Regions from separate parts of the Homo sapiens genome. Here region 2 is linked to region 1. The links are contacts of gene promoters, found by promoter capture Hi-C in blood cells and fetal thymus (Javierre and others, 2016). All regions are on one chromosome and are shown on one strand. The core of a region is centred on a gene start or on the middle of the fragment in contact, and the rest is flanking DNA. Distances in the headings are between cores, read along the strand shown. Region 1 holds the start of KRTAP17-1 (keratin associated protein 17-1). Region 2 holds the start of KRT222 (keratin 222).

Evidence for each region. The method cuts DNA at HindIII sites, captures the fragments that hold promoters and counts their contacts. A CHiCAGO score of 5 or more calls a contact.
Region 2: a contact is called between the fragment with the promoter of KRT222 here and the fragment with the promoter of KRTAP17-1 in region 1, in 5 of 17 cell types (M1 macrophages, M2 macrophages, M0 macrophages and 2 more). The highest score is 8.1, in M1 macrophages.

Annotation. Positions count from the first base shown.
Region 1 is chr17:41,313,374-41,319,343 of GRCh38, reverse strand. It overlaps KRTAP17-1 (keratin associated protein 17-1), which reads left to right and starts at 3,634. Exons shown (of 1, transcript NM_031964.2): 1 at 3,634-4,432. The coding sequence starts at 3,694. The coding sequence ends at 4,011. The HindIII fragment of the contact is 4,540 bases long and covers 167-4,706 here.
Region 2 is chr17:40,662,497-40,668,466 of GRCh38, reverse strand. It overlaps KRT222 (keratin 222), which reads left to right and starts at 3,290. Exons shown (of 6, transcript NM_152349.3): 1 at 3,290-3,463. The coding sequence starts at 3,368. The HindIII fragment of the contact is 3,418 bases long and covers 687-4,104 here.

The DNA.
Region 1 (5,970 bases), core at 2,385-4,884:
GTTATTGTGAATGCAACTAAGCAATATTTCATATGCTCAAATGCTATTCATATTCCCTCTTCCATGAATTATCTTTTCATCTCCATTGTCAATTTTTCTACTCGGTTGCTGGTCTTTCTCTTTGATTGATGGAAATCCTTTGTTAAATAGAAAATGAAAGCAAGCTTTGTCTATGAGTTACTTGTATTGTTCCCAGGTTTTCATTTGCCTTTGACACTGTATTCAAATAATAATAATAATAAAATGTTTACATTATAAATTTCATACCTACACACTGCAAATTTCTAAAAAATACAAAAAAGAGAAGAAAATAAAAATCATTTATCATGCCACAATAAATACATTTACTGCTAATACTTTAGTTTTCCTTTTAGTGTTTTTTCAAATATCTGCATGTAAATATTTATATTAATGTAGATAAGTATCCATAAAGATATATACATATATAAATATATAATAACATATATTAGTTACAAATTTCAAAATTCATGTTCTAAGATATGTTAAAAATATATAACTTTATTTTCCTCTGAGACTGTTTAAACTTATTTCAAACCCTCATTCCACCTTATGGGGGAAAAAAATAAAAGTCAGTTCTATGTAAACACAGAAATCATTCAGGATTTCTCCCTCCCAACCTTCATCTGGAGGAGGTGTCTGAGCTTTGAGGGGTGTTATGTTTGAATCAAATGGAAATTTCATAGCCTTCAAGAGGCTGGCAACAGGTTCATGGTGGGAATTTGCTGAAATATACATGGTTCTCTCTTACTCTTGGCCCTATCATCCCTCTCATGGCATCAACCAAGATATTAGAGTTCTTTTAGTCCACAAAAGAACTACATCCTCTACGTCTACATCCTCTCATTACCCCATCCAGGCGGCTAGATGGACCTGGTCATCTGACCACCCACTCTCCTGCATTGCAAAAGTCTACTTTGAATTGTATAAGCTAAGCATTGACCTAAGTCATTCTCTCTGCATTTCTACAGTAATAACCCTACCCTGGGGGCAGTAAATATAAAAAGTCCCTACTGCTGCCCAATTTGTGTGGAAAGACCAACAGTGAAATAAATTGCAGAAGAAAAATAACACCACCATGAGGACTTCAAGTCCTCATCATGACATGTACATTTACACAATTGAAATCATAGTGTATAATTTGAGTTGCACACTGAATGTTGTACTTAATCTGAGTAAATGCTCATGAGTATATGAATTGTTAAATATAAAAGTATGATAATTTATATTTTCAAGTTGTTCAAACAACCAAGTGTTCAATATGTATACATTTATATTTACTCATTTAATCAAAACAGCTCTACGACACTGCTACTATTATTATCCTAATTTCTGTTTTATAGATGAAGAAATTCAGGTACACAGGGGTTAAGTAATTATGGGAGCAGCGAGGGGGTGGGTGAGAGGCAGGAGAACTGAATGGTGAGACATTGGAAGATGAGGAAGACTTTCTACTCTTTTGTACCTTTTATCCTGGGAATGCTTGACCTCTTATTAAAATAAATAAATATGTAAAAGGATGTGTCGGCCGGGTGCAGTGGCTCACGCCTGTAATCCCAGCACTTCGGGAGGCCGAGGCGGGCAGATCACTTGAGGTCAGGAGATCCAGACCAGCCTGTGCGACATGGCGAAACCCTGTCTCTACTAAAAATACAGCAATTAGCTGGGCTTGTTGGTGCGTGCCTGTAATCCCAGGTACTTGGGAGGCTAAGTCAGGAGCATCGTTTGAGCCCAGGAGGCGGAAGTTGCCATGAGCCAAGATCAAGCTACTGCGCTCCAGCCTGGGCAGCAGAGTGAGACTCCATCTCAAAAAAACAAACAAACAAACAAAAAAGGACACGTCTGCCATAGACATTGCTGTATTATACTCACTCAGAGGTGCCCATCTGTGGATGTGGTATGGTGGAAGAAACAGTGGACCAGGAGGGAGAACATCTGGGCCATGGGTCCAATCTACCACGGATGTGTCATCTCTGGGCCTTGGTATCATCTTCTGTAAAACACAAGTGCTTGGCAGTGATGGTCATGATAGGATTAGATTATATCAGTGTTTCCTAATGTAACCCAAGTTACCTGAGAAAGTTTAAAATATATAGCTTCTCAAGCTCTCATAAGCACACATTCTGATTTATCATAAGGACTGGAATACAGTTTGGGAATCTGTATTTTTCAAAAGGCCCCCTTTTAGGCAATTCTGATATAAAACCCTGGACCAGATGATGTTTCAGGGGTTCCTCCCAGCTCTAAAATTCCATATCCTGTGAAGTATTGAGTATCATATCAGATCCAAGTAACTCATTCATCATTTACCCTCCCGACTCCCACCCTGTCCTTAGTTCTTCTAGCCCTTCTTAGAGGCTGTCTTACTTCTAGCCCATCTTACAAAGAAAGGGAAATGAAAAGGGAAGGACTAGATCCCTTGATCCAGATCCTTACTCCCATCCCTCCTTCCATTCCCACCCCACCCCTATCTTCTGTCCTCTACCCCTACTAGATGTTGTATTCCAGCTCCAGGGCTGCCATGGGCACTCCAAGAGGAGAACAAGGTACCAAAGTCCAAGAAAGAGACAGAAATTTTGACCCATCTCAAAATTTACACATGGACCTGAACCATCTGTAGATTTTAGACTCCTTGCAAAGGCATTTTATTCCTTGGGATGACACTCTGGGTATTTTGTATTCTAATTTCTCCTTCTGCCAGATGGTCTATAAGGTTCGAACTCTTAAAAAAAGTGCGTTACATTCCCATTTTAATGTAGCATTTTGGATATTTACTGATCTCCTTCCTGCTTTCTTCTTTCTTTTCTTCTTTCCTTTCTTCCTCCCCTTCTCCTCTTCTTCCTCCTCCTGCATCTCTTCCTTCCCCGGTCAAGGAAAGGCCTGGGGCTGGAGTGGGGGTGGGTAGAGGGTTCTGATCTCAGTTCTTCCCACCTATTTAGAGAGAAGTGCGAATATTCAGCTCACCTTGCCGCCGAGACAGACCATGCCTTACCAGCTTCTTGCAGCTTTACGATGAGTCTCTCTCGGTTTCACAGGGCAGTTATTACTCATGACTGATGCTCACCGGCCAAGCCTAAACGTGTGGCACACTCCCCATACCACACACAGACACAAACATTTGCCTGGCTCACATGAACCGGGATGAGGATGCCATTTCCACCTGGGAGGAGCCACGTGACCAGGCGTTCTCAGTAGCCTCCACTGGTGTCAGGGGGAACAGAGCATTCGGCTGTTGCCGGTCTGCCTTTCCAGGACTAGCATCCATGGAAGATGGGGTCCATCGCCAACCTGCGAAGATGTGGAAGGCAAGCCCCTCATTCCAGAGCCAGAAGCTGTGGCCGGCTTCCCCTTCCCATCTCCAACCTGGGCTAATGACAGCTGGCAGATGCTTGGCCATGATGACAGGTCTTTTCGAAGATGTATTTTTACCCTCTGGATAAACAGCAGTTGGCAGGAGTGGGGCGTTTTTATGAGTTGAGGTACTCAGGACTGGAAAATAAACAGCCAGTTAATGAGCCGGTCTTATGGAAACTTGCATAAATAATAACAAAGAAAACATCCCGTCCCTCATGCCTGGGTGAGGGGATATAAAAGCTGCCATCCAGATGGCTGGCCACCGTCAGTCGTGGGGAACTCCGGCTGCGTTACCGACCTGCGAGCTGACGGGCCCGGACCATGGGGTGCTGCCCGGGGGACTGCTTCACCTGCTGCACCCAGGAGCAAAACTGCTGTGAAGAGTGCTGCTGTCAGCCGGGCTGCTGTGGCTGCTGCGGCTCCTGCTGTGGCTGTGGGGGCTCTGGCTGCGGGGGCTCTGGCTGCGGGGGCAGCTGCTGCGGATCGTCTTGCTGTGGATCTGGCTGCGGAGGCTGTGGAGGCTGCGGAGGCTGCGGGGGTGGCTGCTGTGGATCCAGTTGCTGTGGGTCCAGTTGCTGCGGCTCCGGGTGCTGTGGGCCTGTGTGCTGCCAGCCCACACCTATATGCGACACAAAATGAAGACCTTTCCCTCCACCACTGATGCAGTCCCACCGAAAGCCTCCATCTGCTCCAGGGGGACAGCCCCTCGTGTCCAGAACCTTCCATACCCCCAAGACAGTGTCTTGTCTTTCTGTGATTTGTAGAGGAGGGCTTGTTCTCCAACACCTTCTCTGGTATTTCAAGGCACCGAGAACAAGAGCCATACTCTGATGAAACATTAAAACTCGGTCACAACTAAGTGATCCCAAGCTCAAGGGTGAATCCCCAATACTTTACTTATTCACATGAAGTTCAATGTCTTGTACTATAAGACATCCTCTTCTTCAAGGTGTCTTTGGGACTGATCCTCCGCCCTGGCTTTCTGCAGCTTTGAGATGCAAAAAAGGTCCATCTTCTTTGTGAGCCTCTTAATAAATTTGAGCATGCTGGCATAACCTAATTAGTTCTCTTGCCTCTTCCTTGACCTCCCTGCTGAGGACTGGGTTAGAAAAATTCACTCTGGCATCTGCCTTAGGGTTTTTGAATTGTGGTTTTTGGATCACCTGCGTCGGAATCACCTGGGAGCTTGTTAAAACTGGAGACTCTGAGGCCCTCCCTAAGACATACAGAATCAGAATCCACCAAAGTGTGGCCTGGGAATCTGTGTTTTTAACAAGAACCTTAGATAATTCTTATGCACTGAAGTTTGAGAACCATAGATCTAGACGGAAGCTTCCGTGTGCTGCATGAGATTCACTTGAAAAGCTTTTAAAAATATAGATCATTGGGTTTTATCACTGGAGATTTTACCCGTTAGCTCTAGGGCCTAGAGTCCCTAGGGACCTGCATTTTTAAAAGCTCCTGGGTGAATGCTGATGCTGGCCACATTTAATGGTGATTGAGGGGCATGGCTTTCTTCTGCACTACAGCTCTCCTAGGATGGTTCTGCAGGAGGGCTTCAGGCTTGATCAGAACTTTCTGGCAAAGTCGGAAAGGAGGCTTTGGTAAAACAAGATTGGTTCTGAATGGAAAGGATTTCTAATGGCAAAGCTAGTGAATTCACAGTTTCTGAGGATGTTCTGCGCAGTACAGTTCCTTCTTCCAGCCTCATGCTTGGTCCAGTCTCACTTTTCTGTGCTAGGTTGTCTTACCTGGAACCAGCTACGTTTCTTCTGCCTGAGTTCTAAGGAGGAGGGAGTGAGTATACCTCTGCTAGGTAGGGCCCAGCCAAGGTGTGTGGGTCCACCTGGGAGGTTAAAACTCAAAAGACAGTTGATCAACCTTTTGTTGAAAGTGACCTTAAGCTGTGTGTGTAATAAAACTAATTTTGCTCTTGCCCTGGAAAAATAGTATTTATTTTTATGCCTACAAAGCGATGTTTCATTTGACAAAGAAAAATTTTTTTCTGATTATAAGCATAGCAATGAACTCTAAAAAATGAAAAAATACAGAAACATATAAAGAATATAGCATTCGAAGGCTCACCACTCAGAGTCTATTACTGATAAGCTTTCCAGACTGTTTTCTAAGCATAGTTATGAATAAAACTGGGATTATGTTGCTTTTACCTTTTTCTTTAAAAAATTTTTTTGTTTCATTTTTTATGGTCAACTTTATTGAAATATAATTTACATATAATAAAAAGTTCCCATTTTTAGTGAACAGTATGATGTGATCTGACATTCGTGTATACTTATGTAACCACCACTGCACTCAAGATCTTTATGGAACTTTCCATCACCCCCAAAATTCCCAGTTTGTCTTTGCAGTCAGTTCTTCCCCCACCCCCAGACCCTGGCAACCATCAACCTGTTCTTTATGTTACTACAGATTTCACCATGTCTAGAATTTCATATAAAAGAAATCATGCAGTATGCACTATTTTTCATTTTGCCTATCATGTTTTGTATCTGTTCATTGTTGCAGGTATCAATAATTCATTTTTTTTTCTACTGAATGGCATCCCATTATACAGATAAACTACATTAAAAATATATT
Region 2 (5,970 bases), core at 2,041-4,540, 650 kb after region 1:
TGGGTTGAGGGAAGATTTTTGTTTTTAGTTATATGTCTCCAACCAACGATAATGGGACAGATGGGAAGAATAATGACTGTCTCAGTGAACACAGCTTGGACAGATGACACTAAGGACAATATGCTCCCCGCCCCAGGTCACAACTATATAAGCTCCCCTAAAACTTAGATGCAATGCTTTGGAGAAAAGGCGAGAGACTGAGATGATGAGATTTAACACACATCCTCCATAGAATAGGAACTCAAAATAAAGATTAACATGAAAAAAGAAAAATAAAGCAATAAGGTCTGCCTGAGCCTATGCACCCAGAGTTGTGATAGCTGCAGCATGAACTACTTGCCAATATTTAACTGCAGGAATCTTAACTTCAGATGATTGTACCAACAACTCGTTTCCTCTGGCTGAAGAGAGAGGGATAAATGAGTGGAAGAAAACTTACATTTATCAGAATGGCTCTCAAACTTTGCTACATATTAGACTCCTGGGAAGTTTTCAAAAATTCTGATGCCCAGGCCCCGTCCTGAGCCAATTAAATCAGATTTTCTGGGAGGAGGACACAGTCATCACCATTTTTTAAAGTTCCAGAAGTGATTTCAGTGTGCAGACACACAGACACACGAATGTCCCTGGAGCCAGGGTCCCCAAACACAGTATTTTGGCATTTGTGAGATGTGTTATAACAAGCTTTCTCCTTTTAATAAAGTCAACATTTTTAAATTATTTACTTTTCTAATAACTATAATGGATTTATGACAATCTCCATCATAATCTCAGTCCATGCACCAAGAATTGTAGGGACCCCACAATTTTATATATGCCATAGCCTTTAATGAGGTATTGTTACTGTTTTATTTAAATAAAGGGTAGTATTTTTGTAAAGGAAAGTAATAATATTTTTTCCTTGAAAAATAAAATTTGAGATCTAGAAATAGTTTACTGCATTACTCACATGCCTGTAAAATACCTTTCTAAATCCTATCCCCTCTGTCTGTCTCAATAAATAAATATTTATTATTATGTCTCAAATTATTGACACAGGGTCCCATTCTGTTGCCCAGGCTGGAGTGCAGTGGTGTGATCTGGCTTACTGCAGCCTCAATCTTCCCAGGCTCAAGTGATCCTCCCACCTCAGCCTCCCAAGTAGGTGGGACTACAGGCTTGCACCACTACTCCTGGCTAATTTTTTAATTTTTTTTTTTTGTAGAGTCTGGGTCTCTCTATGTTGCCCAGGCTTGTCTTGAACTCCTGAGCTCAAGCCATCCTCCCGCCTCAGCCTCCCAAAGTGCTGGGATTACAGGGGTGAGCCACTGTGCCCAGCTATTGAGCACTTTAAATGTGGCTGTTCCAAGCTGAGATGCGATGTAAGTATAAAATACACTTGGATTTCAAAGACAGTATCAAGAATAATGTAAAAGATCTCATTAACATTTTATATGGGTTGCTGCATTTTGGATATATCAAGTTAAATAAAATATAGTCGTAAAATTAATTTCACTTCTTTTTGTTTCAATCTTTTGATATGGCTACTAGAAAGTTTGGAAGGACATCTGTGGTTTGCATTTGTGGTTTGTGTTATATTTCCACTGGACAGTGCTGCTTTATTTAGGGTGCATAAGAAATGCTGGCAGACCTATTTAAAATGCAGATTGCCAGGACTGACCCTCCAGGGAATCTAGTTCAGCTCTCTGTGTTTCAGGCGGATATTAGCAGGAGCTACCTAAAGTAGCAGGAAGCATTTAATTCATTGCTCCCTGAATTTAATTTAGGAATTTAATTCATTGCTTTCTTCTCTCTCCTCCACTCCCAAGCCTAATTCTCTTCATATTTCTCAGTCCCAGTTACCAAGAAAGAGAATCAGTTTGGCCTAGATAATCATTAATGACTCTCTTTAGTCAGAGCTTTCTGTCTCAGCCTACTCCAAAGGTCTCTGACCAATCTATAGATAATCAAGTTGTGACTGATGGGGAAGGTGCAGGAGGTAGGGAGGGGTGGGTCAGAAATAACCTGGAACCTCTCCTCTCACCAGGAGCTGTGGGTAGGACAGCTTTGTTTGGAGAGGGCTGTGAGAATGCCCAGCATAGACTGGCCTGGCCAGATGTGAGTTAATTCAGAAATTAAAAGAGCAGGACATGCATGCAAAGGCCCTGTAAGGGCTAGAACCCAGGTCTGATTATCTCCTGAACTGTGCTCCAGATACAATTCAGCCAAAGCCACTCCACAAATAACAATAATGATAGATCCACTCTCACGACATATTTCTGTCACATCTAGCAACCAGCTGGCAAGATTAAACCAGGAATTTAGAAGGGGAGAGAGAGAACGCAGAGGCAGATATGCAGGGGTAATACATGGAACACAAGCAAGTTGTCAAAGAGCCAGTCCCAGTGATGTCATACATCACTGAGCAACCTTGGGCAAGATGCCTCAACCTCTCTGGCCTCAGTCTTTTCATCTTTACAGGTTAGAAAATGTCAGGGATTGCAAGGATTGGATGGAATGATACGCCAAATACACCCTCCGAAGGGCTCAAGTGATTGCAACGATTGGATGGAATGGTACACTGACTACACCCTCCAAAGGACTCAAGGGTTCTTTTGGTGAATACACCAAAAGGTCTATTTCTTCATCCTTGTTAAAACTTTGGAAATGTTAACTCACAACTCTCATAGTCTACCAGCACTTATCTGCAACATTTTGAGAAAACTAAATATAATTTTCTTTTTTTTTTTTTTTTTTTTTTTTGGAGATGGAGTCTCACTCTGTCACCCAGGCTGGAGTGCAGTGGCTCAATCTCGGCTCACTGCAACCTCCACCTCCTGGGTTCAAGCAATTCTCCTGCCTCAGCCTCCCGAGTAGCTGGGATTACAGGCACCCACCACCACGCCCAGCTAATTTTTGTATTTTTAGTAAAGACAGGGTTTCATCATGTTGGCCAGGCTGATCTCGAACTCCCGACCTCAGGTGATCCACCCACCTCAACCTCCTAAAGTGCTGGGATTACAGGCATGAGCCACCATGCCCGGCAATTTTCTTATGTTATGCCCCATTTCCTTTTCACAAAAATGAACTCCCCCTCCCCTCAAAGTGCTCAATTTTTACAGGGAACCAGTACAGGTTTTTGAAATTTTCCTTTCCTTCATGAAGAATCTGACATTTCTACTATACCAATAACAATAGGAGCAAAGAGTTTACCCTGTATTTGCATAATTAGTTAGAAAGATGAGAATTTCCGTGGCCTCCGAAAAAGGAGCTCTGCATCTTTAAAACTCTGCGAGGCTCCCTGCCTTCCGCGCAGACCGAGCAGACTGCCGCAGCGACTCATCCTATCGATAAGGTTCAGTTAGCCAAGGTGGAGGATGGGAAAAGAATGGAACTGTCCCAGCTACTCAATGAGATCAGGGCAAACTATGAAAAGATCCTCACCAGAAATCAGATAGAGACGGTGCTCTCAACAAGGATCCAGGTAATGATTTCATACAGACAGGCACCTTCCAGAATAAGGAGACAGTCCATGTCTACCCAATTCCTGTCCCGGCCTCTCTGAGGTACAGTATTTCCTTTTCGATGCAGCATCTATTGGGGAAGGAATTTAGCTTCTACTGCAGTGTGACTGGGACTACAGGGGGAAATACTGTGATTATATTGTTAAATTGCCATTAAGTAAGTGTTGATTGATGCATTTGATTTTTATATAAATTGTGAGGTTCCTATCATTAACATGGGGTCAACATACCATAAAATGGTGCACTCTAACCTCTTACAATCTTCAGGAAGGAACCATTCCAAATACCCTTCAAAGATATTATTGGAGTTATTTACAGAGATAATTTAAATAACATCTTTAAAATGAAAAATCTTTAAGTAAGATTTATTAGCATGTACACTTTCTAGAGATATTTCTAAAAGGTTTCTATCATCTTTTTAACGAGTTCCATTTTATACCAGATTGTTATAAATAGAAATCATCTGAGTGTGTGAACATGGCATTCAGAAACAATGATATAAATTATGACCATTGAAATTCCCCAAATTGGTAACGATTCTCCACTAAGATTTTTGCTTCTGTACTATAAGATGAGAAACATTTCTTTCCATTACAAAGCTTGTAATATTTAAGTATTTAAAAAAGAGAAAGAGAGCCTACTTAGATAAGGACTAAATCCTAATTTCATAGACTTAGTTTTAAAGTAACAATCACCTTCAGCAAGTAATTAAGGTCTCAAGTCTTTAAACAAATTTACAAACAAATATTTTAGAAACAAAGATTAAGAAATTTAGGGGATTTTTTAGTTTACCTATCATATATGGGTTCAAGTTATCTTCCAAACCCTGAAATACAGCAAAAAGTTTACTTAAGAATATCACCCAAAATTTTAAAAAAAAAAATTGGTAGAAAAATGTCAGGCCTTTATTCCATTAGCCACTCATTTTTAGTTCCATTGTAAATTTCACCTCTAGATAACATTTTCAGCCTTCATAAAGAATGATCAACATCTTAGATTAAGCAAAGTCACTGGTACAGGTAAGCATTGGGATAGTTCATTCACCTTTACAAACAGAAGAAAAAAATCAATAGATGACAACTTCTAAAAATCATAAACAAAACACTTAACTTTGCAGTAGTAGAAATATGAGTTTAGTTTACAAGTCACAGGGCCAAAATGAGTAAATTCAAATGAAAAAGCAAGACTACGGTGAGTTTTGTTTAAAGTGTCTTTTAATTTGAAACTACTTTAGAGGATTTTCTTCCAAATAACTCAGAAAGTCAGCTGAAATAAATTCAAGACAGCCTGATTAGTTATTTTTTTAAATTTCTAAATAAGCTATTTTAGTTACAGATTGTTGTATAACACCCCAAAACTCATCTGGGACCTCAATCGTCTTGGGGCATGACTGGGCTCACTTATGTGTCTGGCACTTTGGCAGGGCATTGCCGAAAGGCTGGCTCTGCTGGGACTTTCTCTCTCACTTCACGTAGCCTCAGGGTCTCTCTCCATCTGGCCTTTCTACAGGATCTCTCCAGCAGGGTATCCAGACTTCTTGCATATTGGCCCAAGGCTCCCAAAAGCATAGAAGTGGAAGCTATCAGGCTTCCTAAGACTTAGGTCTAGAAGTGGCACAGCATTCCTTCTGCCTCATTCTACTGGTTAAAGCAAGACCCAGGTCAGCCCAGAGTCAATGTAGAAGGGGATCACCCTAGGACTCATCTTGGGAGATAGACTTCTTTAGGGGCCATCTTGGGACTGTAGTTACCGAACAAGCTTAGCTGCCAGTTCCATATTTGAAAGCCACAAGACCAGCAGATACCAGCATTTTTCTGTTTTCTTCTCTCCAAAATTCCTTACTTTACCTTCTGTAGTTGCTCTGGTAGGTGTTGCTTGCTGCCTGACTTTGCCAAGTTAACACTAAGAACAGATTTTCAACAAACCAAAAGAAATGTACGAATTTTGTTCTCCAATACCTTGCCCTAAACTTTATTCATAAACTTTCATTTACTTCAACGTTTTTTTAAAAAAATCTAATGTATGATAAAATTAAATTTTTAAATGTTAAAATATATTTTTATAAGAAAATTAAAAGTTATAAATTTTGCTTCAAAATGCTACAATCAATTCTATACATTGTTCTCACTGTTCCTGGGGCCAAATGTTAAAAATTCTGTCAACAGATACTTTCTTTTCATTTCAACATCAACATAAAAACATTTAAAGCTAAATATAAAATATTCTACTTTTTTAATAGGAGAATATTTAGAAAACAATCCTTAGAGAAGTCATTTTTATTATTTATTCATTTTATTACCCAGATACCCAAAATTAATATGCCTTTTAAAAAGATCATCTTGAAAAAGGTCAATCAACAGATTTTCTTAATATGGAAGTCTATTTGTGAGCCTTATTGCCTATAACAACTTAATTCTCTAAATTACTAGTAATGTATTTCCTAGCAGTATTTACGCCCTATCCCTAT